Linked DNA regions of Homo sapiens: regions 2, 3, 4, 5 and 6 are each linked to region 1. Evidence: promoter capture Hi-C in 16 types of primary human blood cells and fetal thymus (Javierre and others, 2016). All regions are on one chromosome and are shown on one strand. Each heading gives the region's core, a stretch centred on a gene start or on the middle of the fragment in contact. The rest is flanking DNA. Distances are from core to core; before and after follow the strand shown. Region 1 holds the start of TPST1 (tyrosylprotein sulfotransferase 1). Region 2 has its middle 47 kb from the start of KCTD7. Region 3 has its middle 27 kb from the start of LINC03011. Region 4 overlaps LINC03006 (long intergenic non-protein coding RNA 3006). Region 5 has its middle 26 kb from the start of LINC03011. Region 6 overlaps KCTD7 (potassium channel tetramerization domain containing 7).

Region 1 (4,269 bases), core at 1,022-3,521:
GAAACCCTAAGGAATGCCACGTTAATCTGAGAAGAATAAAAAAAGAAAAGGGAAGCATCAAGAAAAGCTTTGTTTTGGTCTGAATGGTGGAAACCTGAGGATGTATACCATCCAACAGAAAAAATAATAATATGGGAAGAGATCAAAGACGTTAGCTTTCGAAAGTAAGACCCCTCTTCTTCTGAGATCAGAGGAAAGGATATTAGAAATCAGGTACAGACAGGCACAGACAAAAATGACCTCTCCTTAAGAGTTCAGGGCTGATGCCCACCAATTTATTCTGTGAAGTTAAGTGGCAAAATAAGCAATGAAGAGAAGGCAAGAGTAGGACAAAGAGTCAGAGAAAAATGGTAAAGATCCATAAACAGCCATTTAGATTTTAGGACATAAGAGGAATCTAGAGGTTAAGTCAAAGGATCTCCAGGATCCAGAAGTGCAGAAACAGCACCCAGCAGTTTAGTTATATGATTTTTGCCAGTCTGCCTTGGGAGCCCAGGAGCAGAAAAAGCTGACTGATTCGTCCAGGCTTGAGACCATCAGAGCAAAGGTGGCAAGAATAGTACAGGGCCAATGACAATGCTTTTATCATTTTAAAAAGTCAAACGTATTTTACTCTTTTTTAAAAATCGACTCGCTATTTCCTCCAAGAGCGAGTGTTTGGAGAGGGGGAGGGAGAGGGGTGGATAATTCCTCTCTCACTCTTAGAGGACTTGTCAGAAGTTTCATTCTTAAGCATATTTGGTCTGTACAGCAGCTGATTCCAGGAAATCCAAATCCTGATTCCTCCTGGATCTTAAAAGATGAAAATTCATTGCAGCTCCCTGGACTATCCAGCTAATAGATAAACACGTACCACATTGCTTATATACTATGCCACTTTAGCTGGGAGGTAGGGGCTCTTTCTTTCCTAAAAAGAAAGTTACCCAAACACTGCAGATGGGGATGGAGAGGGGATGGGGAGTAATTACACCGCAAAGCCTGCTGACTAGCAGCCTAAGAATCCTTTACAAAGGCAATTAACATAAAACAATACATGGCACGGATAGCAGAATTGTTTCTTCTTAATGAATGCAGTAATTGACCATTTAATCGCTTTACTGGAGTTCACCAATTTCTCCTGCCATCTCCCATACCATTCTTCAGGCAGAGTCAAATCCCTGTGGACACTGGACTTCTTGCTACCATCATCTGGAAAGTACAAAACGCCTGGAAGGAGGAAGAGGCTAACATGCGTGACCACCCACCATGTGCCAGGCCTACTGTGTGCTAGACTCTGGGCAAGGGACTTTACATGTTATGGGGTGCAGCTCATGTAAGGACGAATGAAGATATTACACTATGGATCTGAGCCAGGCGCAGTGGCTCACGCCTGTAATCCCAGCACTTTGGAGGCCGAGGCAGAAGGATAGCTTGAGGTCAGGAGTTCGAAGCCAGCCTGGGCAACATAGAGACTCCATCTCTCAAAAAAAAAAAAAAAAAAAGCGATGAATCCGGCATTGCAGAGAGTGGGAAAGTGTCTGGAGGTTTAAGAGTAAGAGAAGGAAGAGGAGATTGCGATGGTGGGTGGTCAAAGTGAGGGGAGAAGAGGCGAGTTGGGAAAGGAAGGTGCTTAGGAGCAAAAGGGCAAGACCCAGGGACACCTGGAGCGGGGCGGGCGACTGCCATGCAGACAGGACTACGTACAACGGGTAGGATGATGGGGCGATGAGCTCAAGAAGCGCAGCCGGGGTAGACGTGGGGGCAAATGTCCGATCCCGGCGAGACGAGGGTCTCATCCCAGGGGACTGCGGGGCTAGGACGTGGTCCCAGGGCTGCGAGAAGGGAGAGAAAGGGCAGAGGGGAGAGGCCCCGGCGGCCGGGGCGAAGCCGAGCCCGGGAAATGCCGGCGATGGGGGAAGGGGCGTGGGAGCAGGGGCCGGACGGGCCAGACCCGGGGCTCCGCGCTCGGGGGCGGGGTTGGACAACCGGGAGGCACCGAGCAGAAGGCGACAAGGGGCCAAGGGATGCCAGGACGGGGCACAGGGCCGGGTGTGAGGAGACGAGAGGGGAGCGGAGCCGCAGCGAGCGCCGCGTCCCCCTTACCTGGGATGAGTGAGGAGCCGCCGCGCCGCCTGGACGGCATCCTGGCCTCAGCCGCTGGTCCCACCGCCTTCGGTGGGGGGCCACTCGGGAGCCCGCCCTCACCGCCAAGCGCCGGCAGCTGCCAGCCTGGACCGGCCCCGCAGAGCAGCGCCGTTCCGACCCGCAACCGAAGCCGCCTCAGCAGCGTCTCCCGCGGTCGCCAACTCAGCGACAACCGCCAGGGTCCGGGGAGGTGGCGGGATCACACATCTGCTACGATTGGCTGAGCGGACGATGTGTCGGCTGCTCTGATTCGTGAGTTCCGGCCGGCTGCCCACCGAAGGAGGCGCGGCTGGGAATGGAGCTGGGTCCGGCAGGCGCCGAGGGGCGGGGGTCTGACGTCGCAGCCGGCCAGCGCCCCCACAGCCCTTCCCGTGCGCGCTCCCGAGGGGGCTTCCCGGCAGCCGCAGGCCTGGCCGGGTGGTTGCCCTAGCAACAGCGCGCGTGGCCTGGCTGCAGGGGAGCCGCGGGCAGGTGGCGGTCCTCACCGCCCCCACCCCCAACGTGGGTGTCCCAGAGGCCTTCATCAGTGAAACCCTAGGACAGGAGAAGAAAATGAGCTTTTCCTGATAATTCCTCTCCTCTGCTTCAGAGCCCACCTTTGCCCGCTGCTGGCAGAGAAGCTGTCATCTCCTCGGGGAGATAACGCGCAAATGCAAATAACGAACTCAAACACTATTTCATCCCCACGAGAGTGTAGACGTGCAATAGTCCCTCCCAACCACAGAGGTGGGGGGCTGACGCCCTAAAAGAAAGAAATGAAAACTAGGGAGAAAAAGGCAAAGAAGCAAAAGAAAGGTGGGGAAAGGGCAGATATTTCACAAAATGATCCATTCATTTTACAGTTTCTTCCTACAGACACATCTACACCAGGTTCTGTCAAAGCAATTATTTCTACTCCAGTGACATGGATTAGAGAAGGCATGAGTGCAGAATCTAACAGCTGTATTCAAAATTGCTCTCTGCTAGGCCAGGTGGGGTGGCTCATGCCTCTAATCACAGCACTTTGGGAAGCCAAAGCTGGTGAATCACCTGAGGTCAGGAGTTCGAGACCAGCCTGGCCAACATAGTGAAACCCCGTCCCTGCTAAAAATACAAAAATTAGCCGGGCATGGTGGCGGACGCCTGTCGTCCCAGCTACTGGGGAGGCTGTGGCAGGAGAATTGCTTGAACCCGGGAAGGTAACTACCTTCCTTTGCACACAGTATAATATTTTCAAAGTTCATCCATGTTGTAGCATGTATCGGCACTTCATTCCTTGTTACGGCCGAATAATAGTCCATTATACAGACATCACCTTTTTTTTTTTTGAAGAGTCTCACTCTGTCTCCCAGGCTGGAGTGGAGTTATGTGATCTTGGCTCACTGCAACCTCCACCTCCTGGGCTCAAGTGATTCTCATGCCTCCGCCTCCAAAGTAGCTAGAATTACATGCATGTGCCACCATGCCTGGCTAATTTTTATATTTTTAGTAGAGACGGGGTTTCATCAAGTTGCCCAGGCTGATCTTGAACTCCTGGCCTCAAGTGATCTGCCTGCCTTGGCCTCCCAAAGTGCTGGGATTACAGGCATGGGCCACCGTGCCTGGCTGGACATCATCTTTTATTTATCCATTAATCCATTGATGGACATCTGTTTCTACTTTTTTGGCTATTATACATGATGCTGCTATGAACATTTGTGTAGAAGTTTTTGTGTGTGGCCGGGTGCAGTGGCTCACGCCTGTAATCCCAGCAGTTTGAGAGGCCGAGGTGGGCGGATCACAAGGTCAGGAGATCGAGACCATCCTGGTTAACACGGTGAAACCCCGTCTCTACTAAAAATACAAAAATTTAGCCAGGCATGGTGGCTGGCGCCTGTAGTCCCAGCTACTCGGGAGGCAGAGGCAGGAGAATGGCGTGAACCCGGGAGGTGGAGGTTGCAGTGAGCCAAGATTGTGCCACTGCACTCCAGCCTGGGCAACAGAGTGAGACTCCGTCTCAAAAAAAAAAAAAAAAAGAAGTTTTTGTGTGGACCTCATTTGATCTTTACAGCAACTGTCTAAGGTACATATGATATCTCCTTCTACAGATAATCAGCTGACTGGGTGTGGTGGCTCACGCCTGTAATCCCAGCAGTTTGGGAAACCCAGGCAGGAGGGTCCCGTGAG
Region 2 (4,173 bases), core at 198-2,697, 470 kb before region 1:
CTGCATTCTCCCCCTCCCGGGTTCACGCCATTCTCCTGCCTCAGCCTCCCGAGTAGCTGGGACTACAGGCACCCGCCACCAAGCCCAGCTAATTTTTTGTATTTTTAGTAGAGACAGGGTTTCACCATGTTAGCCAGGATGGTCTCGATCTCCTGACCTTGTGATCCGCCCGCCTCGGCCTCCCAAAGTGCTGGGATTACAGGCTTGAGCCACCATGCCCAGCCTGTAGATTTCTATAAACAGAGAAAAGTACCATCAGGTTGGTACTTGTCTTGTTTCTGATTTCTTATTTTTTATAGAGATAGGGGTCTCACTTTGTTGTCTAAGCTGGTCTCAAACTTATGGCCTCAAGTTATCCTCCTACCTTTGTTTCCGGCCTTAGTGGAAAAGCTTCTAGTTTTTCACCATTGAGTATGATGTTAACTGTAGATTTTTCAGGCGTGGCCTTTATCATGTTGAGGAAGTTACATGCTATTCCTAGTTTGTTAGATTTCTTTTTATCACAAGAGTATTAAATTTTTAAATTAGATTTGTATTGTGGTAAAATGTACATGACATAAAATTTAATGTAAAAGAATGAAGTTAGATCCTTACCTATCACCATCTACAAAACTTAATTCAAAAATAAATCAAAAACCTAAATGTAAGCATGAAAAATACAAAACTCTTAGAAGAAAACCTGGAGGTAAAGCTTCATGACTTTGGATTTGGCAATGATTTCTTGGCTATGAAACCAAACGGACAGGCAATAAAAGAAAATAGACAAGTTGGACTTCATCAGTAGTTTTTTAACTTTTGTGCATCAAGGGACACTATTCACGGACCAGGTGTGATGGCTTATGCCGCTAATCCCAGCACTTTGACAGGCGGAGGTGGGAGCTAGGCTTGAAGCCAGGAGTTTGAAACCAGCCTGGGCAACATAGTGAGAACCCCCTCCATGCAAACAATTTTTTAAAAACTTAGCTGGGCATGGTGGAGCTTGCCAGCTACTTGGGAGGCTGAGGTGGCAGAATCGCTTGAGCCCAGCAGTTCCAGGTTGCAGTGAGCTAGGATTACACCACTGCACTCCAGCCTGGGCGACAGAATGAGACCCTGTCTCAGAATAAAAAGGCAATCCCCAGAATGGGGGAGAGAGAATACAGTTCACCCTTGAACAACACAGGTCCGAACTGCGTAGGTCCACTCATACATGGATTTATTTAACCAAATACGGATTGAAAATACATTATTTGCCCAATGTGAAACCCACATATGTGGAGGGCTAACTTTTTATAAGCAGGGGTTCTGCAGGGCTGACTGCAGGACTTGAATATGCTTGAGTATGTGAGGATTTTGGTATATGTGGGCATCCTGGAACAAATCCTCTGTGTATACCGACAGATGATTCTATTTGCAAATCAAGTATATATATATATATTTTTTGAAACGAAGTCTCGCTCTGTCACCCAGGCTGGAGTGATGTGGCACAATCTTGGCTCACTGCAACCTCTGCCTCCTGGGTTCAAGCAATTCACGGGCCACCACTCCTGGCTAATTTTTGTATTTTTAGTGGAGATGAGGTTTTGCCATGTTGGCCAGGCTGGTCTCAAACTCGTGACCTCAATGATCTGTCTGCCACGGCCTCCCAAAGTGCTGGGATTAGAGGCTTGAGCCACCATGCCTGGCCTGAAAATCACATATTTGATAAGGGATTGTTATCCAGGATATATCGAGAGCTCTTAAAACTTAACTAATTAACAACCCAAGTTACATGACATGTCTTTCCATTTATTTGTCTTCTTTGATTACTTTCAGCAATGGTTTGCAGTTTTCAGTGTAGAAGTCTTTGACCTCCTTGGTTAAATTTACCCTAAAGTATTTTATACTTTTTCATGCTGTCATACATGAAATGTTCTTAATTTCCCTTTTGGGATGTTCACTGTTTGTGTGCAAAAATGCAACTAATTTTTGTGTGTGTTGATTTTGCATCCTATTACATTGCTGAATTTATTAGTTCTAACAGTTTTCGTCTATGCTGGATCCTTACGGTTTTCTACACATAAGACCACATCGTTCATGAAAAATTTTATTTCTTCCTTTCCGATCTGAATCTTTTAAATTTGTCTTGCTGAATTGTCCTGACTAGAACTTCCAATGCTATGTTGAATAAAATTGGCACAAATTGGTATCCTTGTCTTGTTCATGATTTTAATGGAAAAGCTTCCAGTCTTTCACCACTGAGTATATTAGCTGTGGGGAGTTTTTTGGGGTTTTTTTTGTTTGTTTCTTTTTTTTGAGACAAAGTCTCACTCCTGTCCCCCAGGCTGGAGTGCGATGGTGTGATCTTGGCTCACTGCAACCTCCGCCTCCCAGGTTCAAGCGATTCTCCTGCCTCGGCCCCCCGAATAGCTGGGATGACAGGCTCCTGCCACCACGCCTGGCTAATTTTTGTATTTTTAGCAGAGACAGAGTTTCACCATCTTGGCCAGGCTGGTCTCGAAACCAGACTGCCAGCTGTGTTACACTGGGTAAATAAACTTAACCTCTCCATGCCTCAATTTCCCTGTCTGTAAAATTGGAGAAAATAATAAAACCTCATAATGTATTAGGGAATTAAGTGATTAGAAAATCGCTGGCACAGAGTAGGGCTTCAATAAGTGTTATTAGTTGTTATCAGTAGGCAACTATAATTACTATTATTAGGTATAATATTAGGTATATGTAAGTGTAATGGAAAAATATGACATCTAGCCCTTTATATATATATATATATAGTTTTATAATTGAGGTGAAATAGTCAACAAATATACACATATTAACTGTACAGTTCAATTTTTATAAGTATGAATATTCCCGTCCAACCACCACCTAGATCAAGATGAAACTTTTCCATTCCTTAAGGTTCCTCATGTCACTTCCCAGTTAATCCCTACGGAAGCAACCACTCTAACTTCTCCTAGATCAGTAAAGATGAGTTTTGCCTTTTCTTGAAATTTATATAAATAGAATTATATAGTATGTTCTCTTTTGTACTTGGCTTCTTTCCTTCAACATGTTTTTGAAATTTATCCACCATATTGTGTGTACCAGTAGTTTGTTTTTATTATTTATTATTATTTATTATGTAAGTATACCCTTGCATGAATACCTGTTGTCTTGTTGATGGACATTCGGGTTGTTTCCAGTTTTGGGCTATTATGAGTAAAGCTGGGATGAACATTCCTATGTAAGACCTTTAGGACGGGCGCAGTGGCTCACACCTGTGATCCCAGCTCTTTCGGAGGCCGAAGTGGGTGGATCACCTGAGCTCAGGAGTTCAAGACCAGCCTAGCCAAAACGGTGAAACTCCATCTCTACTTAAAAAAAAAATCAGCCAGGTGTGGTGGTGGGTGCCTGTAATCCCATCTACTCAGGAGGCTGAGGCAGGGGAACTGCTTCAACCTGGGAAGTGGAAGTTGCAGTGAGCTGAGATCATACCACTACACTCCAGTCTGGGTGACAGTGTGAGACTCCATCACAAAAAAAAAAAAAAAGCCTTTAGTGGACACAAGCACAAATTTCTTCCGAGTAAGTACTAGGCGTAGAATAGTTCAGTCATAGGGTAAGCGCGTGGTTAACAAAGTGGTTGCAGCATTTTACATTCCCAACAGCAATGCAGAAGAGTTCTAGGTGTTCCCCATCCTTGCCACTAGTATTATTCTGTAGCTATGCAGAGCAGGTAAAATGCCTAACCATAATATCTGAACGAACTCGTTCCAGGGCTGAATAAAATCACATATTGCATTTTCTTAAAATAAAAATTCAGTCCTTCTAATTCACTTTTCAGATTTTTTTTCTTCTTTTTTAAGAGATAGGATCTCGTTCTGTCACCCAGGCTGGAGGGCAGTGGTGCAATCATAGCTCACTGCAGCCTCTAACTCCTGGGCTCAAGTGTCCTCTTGCCTCAGCCTCCCGAATAACTGGGACCATAGGTGCAAGCCACCAGCTTTTTAGATTATTTAGTGCTCAGAGTAATCAGATACATCACCCGTACGTGCGGAAGACAGTGAGTAAACCCCAAGATAATGCTGCTACCTCAATAACAGCTTAGTCTATGACCTAATACAACACCAGCTAACACTCGCTAAGTATTACTCCATGCCAGCCACTATTCATGGGTTATCCCATGTAATCCTCTCAATGACATTGGGGGTG
Region 3 (3,948 bases), core at 524-3,023, 260 kb before region 1:
CTTATATTAGATTAGATTAGATTAGATTCATTTTTGAGTCAGTCTGTCCTGTAGTGGTTTGACAGGTCTGTTCTTGAGTTCACAGTCTTCTAACTAGTTTGCAAATAAAAATTCAGAAAATTAATTTAGAAAATCAAAAAATAATTTAGTGTTTATTTTTGCTGACAGAATCATTTTGTTGAGTTCCAGAAAGTCTTGTGGGATTTTTATTGCCATTTGTAGTAAACTTACACATTTTGGAATGTTTGACATGGTTATAAGATTTTATTTTCGCACATTGCGTTAAGTATATCTCAGTGTTTCCATGTGGATTATAATTTTCTCATTAAAATATTTTCTATAAGTCTTTACATATTCATGCTATTTTGACTGATATCTCTTTTTATACTTTCTAACTTGTTATTGTTTGTCTGTTACAAGAGTTCCACAGATTTCGTGTACCTATTTAGCTTATTTCACATAAATATGAATTCTTTTATGAAAGTTAGCCATTTTAAAGTTAATTTCTCAGCAGTAACAGTGTTTTATTTTCTTTAGGCCTTCCAGATATACAGTCATATTTCTTATATTACACGGTAAGCTCCACAAGGACTGAAATGATTTATTTTTACTTATATTTGTGTCCTAAGTGCCTGTCATTCAGTAATCAATCAGTATATAAATATTTGTTGAATGAGTGCAAGGGAACACTATAAGAATATGTACCATATACAGTGACTCTATGACTAAAACTTTTTTTTCTACTTGTCTATATATATCAGGTTTTGTAAATAATGAGTATTCTTTGCTTCAACTAGAAAAAAAAAACAAATTTAAGGGAAAAAAATCACCTGTAAGTTTTATTTCTTAATTGAGGTCAATGGATAGCTTATCATTTTGCTGGAATTGATTGGATGTTTCCTGTAAGTCCCAGATGAGTTGTCTGGAGATAGGAATGACCTCTGAGGGCATGACATTGAACCCAAGAATAGGAAGCAGGGCCCGCTCAAGGATAGAGGGAAACTACTCACATCTGTAAAGTGTTTTGGTTTTGCTTTTCTGAGATGAAACTGGTTTGCATCCAGAGTCTTAAGAAAGAACACTAATAGTTCTGTGAGCTTTGTAAGTAAGCTTTGTACCTCTCTGGTCTTTGTAGGTACCTGGACCTAGAATAAATCCTAGCCCTGGGGCACAATTTATAGAATCCTAACTGTCCCAGCAGCAGAGATCATTTTTACTCTGTCTTCCCTGACATAAGTGGGACCAATTGAATCGTGCATTCTTTATGCCCAGGTTGCTCAATCAAGCTCCTATTTATTGGAGTGCAGTGCTCAAACAGGAGTGGCATGTGGCCCCTTGGAGCTCCCTCCTGGAAGCAGTGCTGGTGGTGGTTACCTGTCTAGGGACAGGTCTGTCTGCCCAGGAAAGAGTTGAGTCTCATGCAGTCGATCCCCCATGTTTCTTCCTGTGTTTACAGGATATGCTGTCTGTAGCTCTGATGTCCAATCTGGGTGTGCCGACTCTCCTGCCTTCTACCATAACAGCTGTCGGCACCACCACATAGCCTTTCAAATGATGGCACTCTCTTTTGGTGGTACCCTTGCTCTCTTTTTATACTTAGAAGCAGCAGAATGATCTGAGTGTTGTGTTTAACTGATACACATTAGTCCCATGATAGGTGTTTATTTTTATTAAAAAACATTCATGTGTGATTTTTAACAAAACTTTAGAATTTGGAATAATTAATAACGTCAAATCCATAGGAAGCTGTAAGGATAATACAGACAGGTCCTGTGTACTCTTCTGGTTTGCTTAATGGTTACATCTTACATAACTATAATATAATGTCGAAACTAGGAATTTGATATTTGTGCAATGTATGTGTATAGTGTCATGCACATTTTATCTCATACATAGATTCCTGTAGCCACCACCATAGTCAAGATACAGAACTATTCCATTACCCGAAAGACCTCCCTTATGCCCTTTTAGTCACATCCTATGTCAGCAGTCCCCAGGGCTGCCCCCAGGTTTCGTAATTCGCTCAAGGCTCTCACAGGACATTCTTTGCTATGGTTTGTTACAGTGAGGGGATACAAAGCAGGATTAATAAAGGGTAGTTGTGCATTGAGAAGATTCTATAGGACACGAGCATTGTGAAGATTCGGAGTCTTCTCTCCGTAGAGTTGCCCAGTTTGTGCTTACTTCCCCAGCCATAAACTCTAGCAACACATGTGAAGTGTTTTCTATTGTGAAAGCTCACATGAGCCTCAGAATCCAGGGCTTTTATTGGAGATGGGTCACATAGTGTATTAGTTTGTTCATTCTCACATAGCTATAAAGAAATACCTGAGACTGAGTAATTTATAAAGAAAGGAGGTTTAATTAGCTCACAGTTCTACAGGCTGTACAGGAAGCATTGCAGCTTCTGCTTCTAGGGAGGCGTCAGGAAGCTTCCAATCATAGTGGAAAGCAAAGGGGGAGCAAAGTGTCTCCCCTGGTGGGAGCAGGAGCAAGAGAGAAGGTGCTACACACGTTTAAACAACCAGATCTCACAAGCACAGAACCACAGGGGATGGTGTGAAACCATTCATGAGTAACTGCCCCATGATCAGATCACCTCTCACAGGCCCCACTTCCAACATTGGGGATTTCGATTCACCATGACATTTGGGTGGGTACACAGATTCAGACCATATCACATAGGCATGTAGTTCCTTTGCGACTGATCACTATTACAGCAACTCCAGAAGGAAAGCAGGTGTTTACCATAAATCATACAGTTCACATAAAATATCTAGAGAAGCTGGTACAGTGTGGTTCAGTACCGTAAGCATACAAAACACCCTTATCATTTAGGGCATAGGGCTAGTACAAGACCTCAGTTTCTAGGCGCTGACCAAGGGCCAGTCTCAGAAGCAGGCTCGTCTGAGAATGTGCATCATTTGAGCAACTCAGCTTGCTGAGTTAACTGCTTATACTATTTTCCTTCCCCTCCTCTCCCTTGCCTTCACCACTGTTAACCTGGAAAAAGCACTAATTTGTCCTCCATATCTGTAGTTTTGTCATTTGGAAAGGTAGTATAAATCCTAGAGTATGTGACCTTTTAAGATGGACTTTTTAAAAAACTCAGCATCTTGCTCTTGAGCATCCAGGCTTTTGCATGTGTTAACAGTTTGTTCTTTTTAGTGTTCGGTATTCTCTTGTGTGGTCATGCCCCAGTTTGTTTAACCATCCCATAGATGTTTATTTTCCCTTGTAAAGTTGATGAGCATGTATAATTTTTTTTCTTTTTTGAGATGGGGTCTTGCTTTGTTGCACAGGCTGGAGTGCAGTGGCATGACCTCGACTCACCACAGCCTTCACCTACCGGGTTCAAGTGATTCTCCTGCCTCAGCCTCCCTAGTAACTGGGACTACAGGCACGCACCACCATGCCCAGCTAATTTTTGTATTTTTAGTAGAGATGGGGTTTCACTGTGTTGGCCAGGCTGGTATCCAACTCTTGCCCTCGTGATCTGCCCGCCTCAGCCTTCCAAAGTGCTGGGATCAGAGGCGTGAGCCACCGTGGCCGGCCAGCATGTATAATTTTAACGTAATTGCTAATCACTCATGAGGGGAAGAGATTTTTAAACATTTTTAAATAATAGAGACAGGGTCTTGCTATGTTGCCCAGGCTGGTCTTGAACGCTTGGCTCCAAGCCATCCTCCCACCTTCGCCTCCCAAAGTGCTGGGATTATAGGCGTGAACCATTGCACCTGACCCTGGGGGAAGGGACTTTTGTATTTATTAAGCATTTAGTATGTATCATTGCTCTATAGCCATGTTATTCTATAGTCTCTACAGTAACCTTATTCATTCAGTTATTCTTTCAACAAAGATTTGAGAACGTATGATATGCTTGGTTGTGTAGGGAAAAACAATTCTCAAACTGTATTTTTCCTCTGTTCACGCCACAGTAATCATCAA
Region 4 (4,276 bases), core at 243-2,742, 470 kb after region 1:
TGGCCTCCCAAAGTGCTGGGATTACAGGCGCGACTGGCTGTCTCTCTCTCTCTCTCTCTCTCTCTCTCTCTCTCTCTCTCTCTCAAGTGATAGAGTCTTAGGGCCAGGCACAGTGGCTCACGCCTGTAATACCAGCACTTTGGGAGGCCAAGATGGGCAGATGATGAAGTCAGGAGTTCAAGACCAGCCTGACCAGCATGATGAAACCCCGTCTCTACTACAAATACAAAAATTAGCTGGGCTTGGTGGTGTGCACCTGTAATCCCAGCTACTCAGGAGGCTGAGGCAGGAAAATTGCTTGAACCTGGGAGGCTGAGGTTGCAGTAAGCCGAGATCGTGCCACTGCGCTCCAGTCTGGGCCACAGAGTAAGACTCTATCTCAAAAAAAAAAAAAAAGATTCTTGTTATGATGACCAGGCTCGTCTCAAATTCCTAGGCTCAAGCAATCCTCTTGCCTTAGCCTCCCAAAGTGGTTGGATTATAGGCATGAGCTACCGTGCTGGCCAAAATAGAATGTTAGTGACACACCCTACATTGAATTTACTTGGAAGGCTGATTCTTTTCCCATGCCCTCCCTAGGAGAGTGAGCTGGGTGTTAGGACCTTAACTCTGCCCATAAGATGCTCAGGCCAGGAGAGATGCCCTTCACCCCTTGGATTACAAGGGTTTCAACTCCCTTTCTGCTTGTTTGAGCCTTGCCCTCAGTTCTTTTTATCCCTGCTCTGCTGTGCTTGTTTCAAACAACACATTTTTGGACTGTGGCATGAACGGCTCATCTTCAGAGAGTCTGTTTTAGTTGTGTTTCCTAGGATCTGCATCTGCCTCTTCGCGTGTAACTTTGGTAGCCCTTGTGCAGGTCTTGGAGTCTCCAGTGACTTTTTGTCTTCTAGTTTTGCTGAATATGGGATTTCTGCCTCATTCCCCCCCACTATGTCTCCCTATCACTTTGCATAATTTCTAGGAGGAGGAAGGGGAAGATTCGGTCAAATATTGCTGCAGTTCTTATACTATAATCATATTGCTTTGTAATATAAATTTCCCCCACTTTTTCCATTATAAAGATAGCTGTAGGCCAGATGTGGTGGCTCATGTCTATAATCCCAGCGCTTGAACCCGGAAGGTGGAGATTGCAGTGAGTTGAGATTGCACCACTGCACTCCAGCCTGGACGGCGACAGAGCCACGCACTGTCTCAAAAACATAAAAATAAATAAATAAATGAATGTTTCATCTTTTATATAGCTGTATAGACATAGATGTATAACCATATACCATACCTGGATATAGACACACGTAGAGATTTATTTGTTCAAAAATGGGGGCTCACATTATATATATGTTCTGCAACTTCCTTTATTCATGTGACATATCATGGGCATATTTCCATGGTGTGACTTATTTTGAATGCTAATGTTTATATTAAATCACATTTCAAACTGTGTTCTTTTAAGACATTCATGCTATTTTAATGTATTGGTATTATTTGTTTATTTATTTATTTTGAGATGGAATCTTTCTCCGTCACCAGGCTGGAGTGCAGTAGCGCGATCTCGGCTCACTGCAACCTCCACCTCCTGGGTTCAAGCGATTCCCCTGCCTCAGCCTCCCAAGTAGCTGGGACTACAGGTGTGGACCACCATGCCCAGCTACTTTTTTGTATTTTAGTAGAGATGGGGTTTCACCATGTTGGCCAGGATGGTCTCGATCTCCTGACATCGTGATCTGCCTGCCCCGGCCTCCCAAAGTGCTGGGATTACAGGTGTGAACCACCGTGCCCAGGCAGCAATGTATTGCTATTTAACATATTGATATGAAATATTAAATTTGTTAGCAAATATTTTATACACACAGATACAAAAAGCATCTGTACACCTACTATCCTACTTAAAGGAACATTATTACTATAATGCCATTGATTAACTCTACATACCTTTTCTCAATCTCATTTCCTTTCTTACTTTCAGAAGTAACTACTCTCCTGCAGTTTATGTTGTAAGTTATCATTTATGACATTAAATGATATTCTCTTTTTAAAGTTTCCAATGGCTATTGGAGTATCACAGTAATCACAGTAACTGAGAATGTTCACAGTATTGCTGTAAAAATTCTTATATATGTGGCTCCTCCAATCATACAACTTTCTTTTTTTTTTTTTTGAGACAGAGTTTCACTCTTGTTGCCCAGGCTGGAGTGCAATGGCGTGATCCCAGGTCACCGCAACCTCTGCCTCCCGGGTTCAAGCGATTCTCCTGCCTCAGCTTCCCCAGTAGCTGGGATTACAGGCATGCATCAATACGCCTGGCTAATTTTGTATTTTTAGTAGAGACGGGGTTTCTCCATGTTGGTCAGGCTGGTCTTGAACTCCCGGCCTCAGGTGATCCGCCTGCCTCAGCCTCCCAAAGTGCTGGGATTACATGCATGAGCCACTGCGTGCCTGGCCTCTTTTTTTTTTTTTTTTTTTTTTTTTAGACAGAGTCTCACTCTGCCACCCAGGCTGGAGTGCAGTGGCGTGATCTTAGTGCAGCCTTAACCTCCAGGCTCAAGCCATCCTCCCAACTCAGCCAAGTAGCTGGGACTTGAGGTGTGTGCCACCACGTCCCACTAATGTTGTTTATTTTTTGTAGCGATTAGGTCTCAATATGTTGCCCAGGGTGGTCTTGAAATCCTGGGCTCAAGCGATCCTCCCACCTAGGCCTCCCAAAGTGGTGGGATTAGAAGCATGATCCACCACACCCAGCCTACTCATGAAAGTTTCTCCTGAGTGTCTCCCTCAGGTGGAATTGCTGGGTTGTATAAATTGCGTGTGTTTAGTGTTACTAACACCATATTGTTTTCCGGAGTGTTCGTTCCAATTTACTATACTTTAGAAGGCCATTATCAGTGAATAACTTTTTAAAAAGGAGTACATGATTCTAACACAATTAGCCATTAGAAAATTTGTGGCTGGGCACGGTGGCTCACTCCTGTCATCCCAGCACTTTGGGAGACTGAGGTGAGCAGATCACCTGAGGCCAGGGGTTTGAGACCAGCCCGTCCTACCTGGTGAAACCCCCGTCTCTACTAAAAACACAAAAATTAGCTGGGCATGGTGGTGCCTGCCTGTAATCCCAGTTACTTGGGAGATTGAGGCAGGAGAATCACTTGAACCCAGGAGGCAGAGGTTGCAGTCAGCCGAGATCACGCCACTGCACTCCAGCCTGGGCAACACAGAGAGACTCCGTCTAAAAAAAAAAAAAAAAGAAAAAGAAAAATTAAAAGAAAATTTGTTAGCTTAAAAAATGTGATCTGTAGAAAACCTTTCAGAGCCGGGTAAGGCGGATCACACTTGGGCTTGAGCCCAGGAGTTGGAGACCAGTCTTGGCAACATAATGAGACCCAGGCTCTACTAAACATAAAAAACCAGCCTGGCATGGTGGCACACACCTGTGGTCCCAGCTACTTAGATGGCTGAGGCAGGAAGATTGCTTGAGCCCAGCAGTTCGAAGCTTCAGGAACAGTAGTATGACGTGCATTACTTTTGACTAACCAATTGTGATTAAAAACTTTGCAAAATAAATTGCTAATATTTTTATTATGGCTTCATTTTGCTGTATTGTATTTGGTTCACATGTGCTATTATTCCAGTAAGAACAGCAATTAAACTTTTTTTGTTTTTTTTTTTAGAGAATCTGGCTCTGTCACCCAGGCTGGAGTGCAGTGGCGCAATCTCGGTTCACTGCAACCTCTGCCTCCTGGGTTCAAGTGATTCTCCTGCCTCAGCCTCCTGAGTAGCTGGGATTACAGGCGCCCGCCACCAGGCTCGGCTACTTTTTGTATTTTTAGTAGAGACAGGGTTTTGCCATGTTGGCCAGGCTGGCCTCGAACTCCTGACCTCAGGTGATCCTCCCACCTCGGACTCCCAAAGTTCTGGGATTACAGGCGTGAGCCACTCCGCCCAGCCTAATGAAGCATATTTTAATCTGTTTCATAGTTTTGCCTTGTCTGGCAAGATTACCTCCTGGTTGTTACACTATATGTGACCACTCATTAGTGTCTTCTAGGCAACTATATATATATATTTTTAATGTGATATGCTTTAGCAAAACAGCGTCTACAATACTGCCATCTCATGCCCACAAGTATTAATACAGGTGTGAGTGTGAGGTGGATTCCAGGACCATGAAGAGGTAACAGATTTTATTTTAATTAATTAACTAATTAATTTTTTGGAGGCAAGGGCTCGCTTTTTTACCCAGGCTGGAGTACAGTGGCATGATGACGGCTCACTGTAACCTGGA
Region 5 (3,963 bases), core at 162-2,661, 320 kb before region 1:
GCATTGTGGAAAGGTATAGGCATTACAATCTAAGCTATTTGATCAGAACATTAAAAAAAGGCCAGCATGGTGGCTCATGCCCGTAATCCCAGCATGTTGGGAGGCCAAGGCAGGAGGATCACTTAAGTCTAAGATTTCGAGATCAGCCTGGGCAACATAGCAAGATCCTGTCTCTACTACAGATTTCTAAAAAACAGCTGGACATGGTGATGCATGCCTGTAGTTCCAGCCACTTAGGAGGCTGAGGCAGGAGGATTGCTTGAGCCCAGGAGTTTGAGGCTGTAGTGAACCATGATCACGCCACTGTACTCCAGCATGTGTGACAGAGTGAGACCCTGTCTCAAAAAAAAAGAAAAGAAAGAAAAAGCCACACCAATATGCTCCCATGTCGTATGCTCCTTTTTTTTTTTTTTTTTTTTTTTTTGAGACAGATTTTCGCTTTTGTTGCCCAGGCTGGAGTGGAATGGCACGATCTCAGCTCACTGCAACCTCTGCCTGCCAGGCTCAAGCGATTCTCCTGCCTTAGCCTCCTGTGTAGCTGGGACCACAGGTGTGCACCACTGCACCTGGCTAATTTCTTTTTTGTATTTTCGGTAGAGATGGGGTTTCACCATGTTGCCCAGGCTGGCCTTGAACTCCTGAGCTCAAGCCTCCAAAAGTGCTGGGATTACAGGCATGAGCCACCGAGCCGGGCCCCTGTCTATTAAATTCTGTGTGTAGTTGTTGAAAGTGTGTCTCACCTCATTGGTCTGCAAGGCTCATGAGTACAGGGACTGTGTCTGTTTTATTCACAGCAATATCCCCAGTGCCTGAGACAGTGCCTGGCACATAGTAAATGCTCAAGAAATACATGTAAAGGGGTGAATCGTTTCCCCAGAAATCCCCTCGGCTGGAACTGGGAAACCTGCCACTTCTCTGTCCACAGCAGCTACATGTCCCTCCCCAGGGGTTCTGCGCTGCTTACCATATGTCTTATTGAAAAGCTCCTGGACCTGCTCCCTTAGCGTGTTGGCAATGTCAATCCGTAAGAGCCTCGCGTCGTAATTTTCTGCAAAGCGCAAAATGATTATGGGTTTGGGCTGTTCAGTGAAAAGGCACTTGGTGACTTTTAAGGAAGATGATTTTCTAATTATGGGGAACTCCTTCTCTGGCAATTAACGGATCTTTGGAGTGGGCCGCTCAGGTTCTTCAGCACCAACGTCTTGATGGAGATGTGTTTTTTCCAGAAGGACATGCACTGTTGCCACAACAGTGATGAGTTGGAAATTCAGTTAATTGTTGACATTTGAAAACCACCAAATCAATAAATAAGCCCGGAGAGGAGGGACACCATAGAGTGCAGAGTCCTGTGCCCTGGGCTGGCAGGCAGGGGGTATGGGCTTCATGAAGTCACTGGGGGGCTGGAGACAAAGGAGGGAACGGAAGCCCAGCTGATCCAGCAGATGGTGGAGGACGGGCAGTCCCCACAGACACAGGGGACACGCCTGGCAGCTCCCAATGCAACCTCCACCTCCCAGGCTCAAGCAATTCTCCTGCCTCAGCCTCCTGAGTAGCTGGGACCACAGCTGTGTGCCACCATGCCTGGCTAATTTCTTCTTTGTGTTTTTGGTAGAGATAGGGCTTCGCCATGTTGCCCAGGCTGGCTGTGAACCCTTGAGCTCAAATGATCCACCTGCCTCAGCTGGGATTACAAGTATGAGCCACCCAGCCACCCTCACCCAGAGAGTGTTCATTAAAAACCCCCAAGTGTGGCCAGGCGCGGCAGCTCATACCTGTAATGCCAGCACTTTGGGAGGCCGAGGCGGGAGGATCACCTGAAGGAAGGAGTTGGAGACCAGTCTGGCCAACATGGTGAAACCCCATCTCTACAACCCCGTGTCTACCAAAAAACTACAAAAATTAGTTGGGCATGGTGGTGTGTACCTGTAATCCCAGCTACTTGGGAGGCTGAGGCAAGAGAATCCCTTGAACCTGGGAGGTGGAGGTTGTAGTGAGCCGAGATCACACCACTGCATTCCAGCGTGGATGACAGAGCAAGACTCTGTCTCAGAAAAAACAACAACAACAACAACAACAACAAACAAAAAGCTGGGTGCAGTGGCTCATGCCTGTAATCCCAACACTTTGGGAGGCTGAGGCTGGCAGATCATCTGAGGTCGAGAGTTCGAGACCAGCCTGTCCAACATGGTGAAATCCCGTCTATACTAAAAAAAATACAAAAATTAGCCGGGTGTGGTGGCGTGCACCTGTAATCCCAGCTACTCAGGAGGCTGAGGCAGGAGAATCGCTTGAACCCAGGAGGCAGAGGTTGCAGTGGGCTGAGATTGCGCCATTGCATTCCAGCCTGGGCAACAAGAGTAAAACTCCATCTCAACAAACAAACAAACAAGACAAGTGCCCGCATGTGCCGGAGGGATCCTACACCACCATTTCTCTCTCCCCCCACTCTTTTTTTTTGAGACAGGGTGACAGGGTCTTGCTCTGTTGCCCATGCTGGAGTGCAGTGACACGATCCTGGCTCACTGCAAACTCCGCCTCCCAGGTTCAAGTGATTCTCCCACCTCAGCCTCCCAAGTAGCTGGGATCACAGGTGCATGCCACCTCGCCTGACTAATTCTTGTATTTTTTTGGTAGACACGGGGTTTCGCCATGTTGGCCAGGCTGGTCTTGAACTCCTGGCCTCAAGTGATCCACCCATCTCGGCCTCCCAAAGAGCTAGGATTACAGGTGTGAGCCACTGCACTCAGCCTCTGATTTCTTTTCTTAAAAATAGACCTAGAGATGGGTTCTATGTTGCCCAGGCTGGTCTCGAACTTCTGGCCTTGAGCAAGCCGCCTGCCTTGACCTCCCCAAGTGCTGGGATTACAGGCGTGAGGTGCCACGCCTGGCTCTTATTCTGATTTCAAAGCACTAAGACCACAGCTGATTGCTGAATAAGGAGTGGGCATGTCAGCTACCTTCCTGGAGGGGGGCAGGCAGGCTCCTGCGCCCTGTAGCCTCCCAACCCCCAATTTCCCCCACCGTCCACCTGTAGGCACCCCCTCTCCCCTGGAGTCTCTAACACAGAGCTTACAGGGTACAGCCGGGCCTGGGCTGCCAACCTGGCTTGCCTGGTCCCTTAGGCCCTGAAGTTGGGGGCCAGCTCCTCCCCACTTCCAGCCTGGCCCTCCAAACCCAAACCAGGTCAAGGTCCTGGTGCTGGGACAACAGACCTCCCCCTGAGCTCAACCTTACCTTGAAAGCCCTGTCTCTTCAGGCTCTCGCCCACCAGAGGGTCCCTGGAATCCCTCTCTGGGGGCAGGGCAGGGGGAGAGAAGCCAAGTGATGAGGCAGTTCCTGGGACCCAAGATGGCATCATTAGGGGAAACCTAATGCGGGGGTGTGGGCAGAATGCCAGGGTCAGGGTGGGAGCAGGACAGAGGCAGCAGGAGGAGGGGCTGGTGGCAGAGGCCTGGGGCCCTCCCTTGCCCGCCCGCACCATGGCCCGCGACCCCGTGCTGGGTACCTTGACTATCCACGATGGGCTCTTTGACTCCCTCAGTGAGCAGCTTGGGCCTGGACAACACAAGCGGGGCTATCACAGAGGTCCCTCCAAGCATCTCTGAGACTGCCCAGCCCTCCCCTCTGGGCCTCAGTCTGCACATCCCTGCAATGGACCCTCCTGGCTCCGCACAGTTAGGCCTGGAGTCCCTGCTGCCCCACGTGTGGAAACTGGGGGGCTGCCCTGGGCTTGAAGGATCCAGCCAGGAGTGAGACCTGCCCAGTCCTGAACAGGTCCGTCTGATTATCTCACTCCTGCTCCAGGGACATTGCACGATTGTCACTGCCTGGGATTGGAGCAGGCGGCCTCAGGGGGCCTCCCGTGGAGCTGGTTTAAAGTGTAGAAACAAGGTCTGGTGCAGTAGCTCACGCCTGTAATCCCAGCACTTTGGGAGGCCGAGGAGGGCGGATCACTTGAGGTCA
Region 6 (4,181 bases), core at 1,087-3,586, 440 kb before region 1:
TGCTGTTCTTGTGATAGTGAGTTTTCACGAGCTCTGATGGTTTAAAAGTGTAGCATTTCCCCACTCTTTTTTTATTTTTGTGGGATGGAGTCTCACTCTGTTTCCAGGCTGGAGTGCAGTGGCATGATCTCGGCTTATTGCAACCTCTGCCTCCTGAGTTCAAGTGATTCTCCTGCCTCAGCCTCCCGAGTAGCTGGGACTACAGGTGCACGCCACCATGCCCAGCTAATTTTTTTGTATTTTGTTTTTTAATAGAGATGGGGTTTCACCATGTTGGCCAGGATGGTCTCAATCTCTTGACCTCGTGATCTGCCTGCCTCGGCCTCCCAAAGTGCTGGGATTATACAGGCATGAGCCACCATGCCTGGCCTCCCCATTCTCTCTCTCTCCTGCCTCCATATAAGATGTGCCTTGCTTCTGAACTTCGCCTTCTGCCATGATTATAAGTTTCCTGAGGCCTCCCAGGGATGTGAACTGTGGGTCAATTAAACCTCTTTTCTTTATAAATTAACCGGTCTCAGGTAGTTCTTTACAGCAGTGTGAAAATGGACTAATACAACATCTATGGGAGATTTTTTTTTTCCTTTTTTCCTAAAATCCTTTCCTGAAGTATGAAGACTTTCTAATACTTGTCCTAGATATGTGCTTTCAAATCTTCACAGGTCAGGTAGAGTGAAGCCCTAAACCTCAGGAGGAGGATACGAGCTGTCAAGAGGAAGGGAGGATCATGCTGTTGAACACCTCTGAGGATTTCAGAAAGGGGCTCTGGGTTTGAATCCTGACTCTTCCACTTACTAGCTCTGCACTCTTGGGGAAACTACATACTTCTATGAGCTTCAGTTTCCAGCCTGTATTATTAGTGTACTATAACTATGTGACTGTACTCAGTAATTAGTCAGGGAATACATTTGGCACAGATGATACAGTGCTTTTGTTTAAAAGCCAGAATAATCAGAGGTTTAAGGGAAGCAGTTGGAGGGTATGAAGCTACTCAGAGCCTCAGAACTCACCTTTCTGCGTTAATCCATGATGTGACTCCAGGGGGCATCTTGATGAGGACACTCATTAGCCAGGAAGGTGTCAAGCTCTGCTTTCAAAGGAAGGGCAACTTACGTCCATTTTTCTTAAGGAAGGGTCTTAACCACTGAGGCTTACATAAATTTAGAGCTACTTATTTCCCCCATTGAAAAGGAAGTGGTAATATGACAGGAGGAATTTATTTTAGAACTACCTGACATGGTTGTGAGCCACACACGTGACTGCACCTGCAGTCTCTTCTTTCCTTGGAGAACTCCCAAAAGAAGAGGACAGAGATTTTGCCTAGGCTGGGGTGGGCACATGCCTACATGAAACAGGGACAAGTCTAGAGTAACTCTAGAAGGGTCCTCAAGAGGCCCACCTCCCTTTCAGGGCAGAAATTCAGCTGCTGGTCTCAGGGAAAAGCCTGTCTTGTTGTGTGGGGCATCCCCAAACACACCACATTTTAAGCAGAAATAAAAAATATTTGCTGGCAAAGTGGGGGTCAGAGAAGAGATGAGAGCACATCTCTAAAAAAGAAAGGCACAGCACCCAGGTTCTAGTTCTTGACTTTAATGCCCTTGGAGTGTACTGAGGCTCAATACACCAAAGCACTCACAGACAGGTACATGAACTCACACAGGAAGTGTTATAGTGTGTACATAAACCCAACACCATACAGAAGGAAGACGACGGACCCAGGTGACCTCCCACACTCGAGGTGACTGCCTGTTCCCATACTCACTGTTTGTTCCCACCTCCCTCAACCCCTGCCAACCCCCATCCTTCCCCACTCAGTATGTATATACACAGATATGATTCTTTCAGAATTCCAAAAAGTGCCTCTCCCACCCCAGTTCCCAACACTACAGCTTTGGATGAAAAAAGCCTCTCTCTTTTAAGGATCATGAGACAGGTACCACCTTCACGCAAGAGCCCCAGCAAAATAGTACCCAAGAAAGCTTAATAATGTATATTGGAATCAAATATGGATAGAACATATGCAGAAGGACAATATTTGAAATATTACTAGGATCAAAACGCTCAGCATCAGTAGTTTTTGTTTTGTTATTGCTGTTTGCTTTAACCTGTTCAAGAGCTGGTTTAGACCAAGACCACACATGGATGCTCACACCGCCTGTGTCTTATAAATGTCACTTCCTATTCCTCCAGCAAGCAGCCCAGAACAGGAAGATTATATCACCTGATAAGCCTTAGGCACAAGGCTCAGACAGCTCCCAGAATATCCTAAGCCCCAGGAAAGAAGAACAGAAACTTCCAGAGTACAGCTGACTGCTTTCTGCATGGTAAGCACTGGGCAGCCTGGTGAACAAGGCAGAGGTAAAATAAGGAAGGTGATGATTCCTTCCATTTATTTAGAGTGTTACGCTAAGAATTCCTCTCCTGGAGTGGGATGCATTTCAGTGTGGTTTTGCTTCAGTCTTTTTTTGTTGCTATAACATTAGCTTTTTTATTTTTAAGGAATTTTGTTATGGCGAGCATTGCACCATTGGTCCCATCTCCTGAAACTTTCACTTTGCTTTGACTCACTGATAACTACTGGCCCGTCTCAAGGCAAGATGAATCCAGTCCCTTGTCAAGTGAGAGGGATTTACTGACATTATGCACAACAATTCTATAAAGATGCACTTCCTTATGATCAGGGAGAAGCTTTCATCCTTTGGAGCCTTCCTTCCAGACCCAACCCTTCTTCTGTTCTGGGCCTGGCCATTTAGAGTTGAAAAGGGATCAAATGGGGAAAAGTCACTTCCACAGGGATAACCCCTTTATCTGGAGGCCGTTACCACAATCCACCACATCTAATTGCACTTTTCAGCCTGGCCTTGGTTTCTCATTAGAGAATGGCGAAACTAGGCCACTGAATTCCTTCACTCCATTTAGAAAGAGCTCTCAGCTTGCTGCCCAGTGTCACCTCTCTGCCTGTTCTACTGGCCCAGAGCCTTGTGTCCTACAGTGGCACAGAATACATTACTGTGAGGATCACAAAGGGAGTCAGAGAAACAGGGATTTCTCCAGCGAGAGAGAGGAACGGTGTTCTTACCCAGCATCCCTGTAATCCTAAGCAAGCCTTCAGGACCTGTTTTTGAGCAAACTTGCATTTGAGCAAACAAGTCTCTCAATGGCTTGCATGTATGGACTCTAAATAACCAAGCCCTGCCATGCTCCATGGGAGAAGGGGGAAGCAGAAGGGGTCAAGGCCACATTACTGAAAGCAATGGGCTTAATGAACTGCTCTCTGTTCACACAGACTTTTTCAATAGTCTGCCTCTCTGTCAAAAAATGAACACATATTAGGCAGTAGGTAACACCAATCAGAAGAACCAAAATGAAAGCCTTTTCTCTTAGAACAATACAAGAGCCATGTTTTGGGGCTAACCTCCAAGCAGGGACATCAGCTCCAGAAAAGAGACTATCCCTTTGTGTACGAGAACAATAGAGAGAGCGCATATCTCAGAACGTGAATGACTATCCTTTCCTCTTAGATCTCAGTATCCACCTCTTTTCCACCTCTAAAAGAGTACAACAGGAGTGCAAAACCACGCCCTGGAATCTTTGTTTACACATAGGGAACAGGAGATCACTGCCGTCCAGCCCCACGGAGGAATTCAGCCAAAGTCCCAGGGCTTGGTCTTCTCTTCCTCATATGAACACAGACTTCAGCTCCCCTTATACCCATCTTGTCTATCTGGTCCTGTAAGTCTGATACCAGTGAGGCTGTCCTCCCCAATTTATTTATTTATTTATTTATTTTTACGATGGTGTTGCCCAGGCTGGAGCACAGTGGCTAGCCACAGGCACGATCATAGTATACTACAGTCTTAATCTCCTGGGCTCAAGTGATCCTCCTGCCTCAGCCTCCAGAGTAGCTGGTACTACAGGTGTGTGCTCGAGTGGCCTGGACTACAGGCGTGTGCCCAAGTAGCTGGGACTACAGACATGTTCCTGGCTCGCATCAATTCTTTACACATTAAAAAAAAAAATCTCCCTTTACCCAGGAAGAGACAGGTACAATCATGATTAGAGAGAGACACCCTTAATGCAGCATGGAAATGTTACATTGTGATCAATGGTGCTACACAGTTCTTCCTTTAGGAGATGCATGTCCAGACCCTGACTAGTTGGCCTAGGCTGTAGACAGAGCA

What was found. Contacts are between HindIII fragments. The CHiCAGO score rates a contact against its expected background, and 5 or more counts as called.
Region 2: a contact is called between a fragment that was not itself captured here and the fragment with the promoter of TPST1 in region 1, in 3 of 17 cell types (endothelial precursors, M1 macrophages and M0 macrophages). The highest score is 6.3, in endothelial precursors.
Region 3: a contact is called between a fragment that was not itself captured here and the fragment with the promoter of TPST1 in region 1, in 4 of 17 cell types (M1 macrophages, M0 macrophages, M2 macrophages and 1 more). The highest score is 7.6, in M1 macrophages.
Region 4: a fragment that was not itself captured here is called in contact with the fragment with the promoter of TPST1 in region 1 in 2 of 17 cell types (total CD8 T cells and erythroblasts); the score reaches 6.0 in total CD8 T cells.
Region 5: a fragment that was not itself captured here is called in contact with the fragment with the promoter of TPST1 in region 1 in 3 of 17 cell types (M0 macrophages, M1 macrophages and megakaryocytes); the score reaches 8.4 in M0 macrophages.
Region 6: a fragment that was not itself captured here is called in contact with the fragment with the promoter of TPST1 in region 1 in 2 of 17 cell types (M1 macrophages and endothelial precursors); the score reaches 6.6 in M1 macrophages.

What each region holds. Positions count from the first base shown.
Region 1 is chr7:66,203,336-66,207,604 of GRCh38, reverse strand. It overlaps TPST1 (tyrosylprotein sulfotransferase 1), which reads right to left and starts at 2,271. Exons shown (of 6, transcript NM_003596.4): 1 at 2,083-2,271. RefSeq lists silencers at 1,869-2,228, 2,379-2,648. The HindIII fragment of the contact is 8,515 bases long and covers 70-4,269 here.
Region 2 is chr7:66,673,532-66,677,704 of GRCh38, reverse strand. It overlaps a transcript of RABGEF1 not described here. Among named protein-coding and RNA genes, the nearest start is that of KCTD7, 47 kb to the right of the region's middle. The HindIII fragment of the contact is 1,508 bases long and covers 694-2,201 here.
Region 3 is chr7:66,464,309-66,468,256 of GRCh38, reverse strand. No RefSeq gene overlaps it. Among named protein-coding and RNA genes, the nearest start is that of LINC03011, 27 kb to the left of the region's middle. RefSeq lists a silencer at 2,644-2,844. The HindIII fragment of the contact is 1,322 bases long and covers 1,113-2,434 here.
Region 4 is chr7:65,735,040-65,739,315 of GRCh38, reverse strand. All of the region lies in intron 2 of LINC03006 (long intergenic non-protein coding RNA 3006), which reads left to right. Among named protein-coding and RNA genes, the nearest start is that of SNORA22, 18 kb to the left of the region's middle. The HindIII fragment of the contact is 3,989 bases long and covers 1-3,486 here.
Region 5 is chr7:66,518,077-66,522,039 of GRCh38, reverse strand. It overlaps the pseudogene LOC100420547. Among named protein-coding and RNA genes, the nearest start is that of LINC03011, 26 kb to the right of the region's middle. The HindIII fragment of the contact is 5,661 bases long and covers 1-3,963 here.
Region 6 is chr7:66,640,441-66,644,621 of GRCh38, reverse strand. KCTD7 (potassium channel tetramerization domain containing 7) reads right to left here. Exons shown (of 4, transcript NM_153033.5): 4 at 1,575-4,181. Among named protein-coding and RNA genes, the nearest start is that of KCTD7, 14 kb to the right of the region's middle. The HindIII fragment of the contact is 709 bases long and covers 1,982-2,690 here.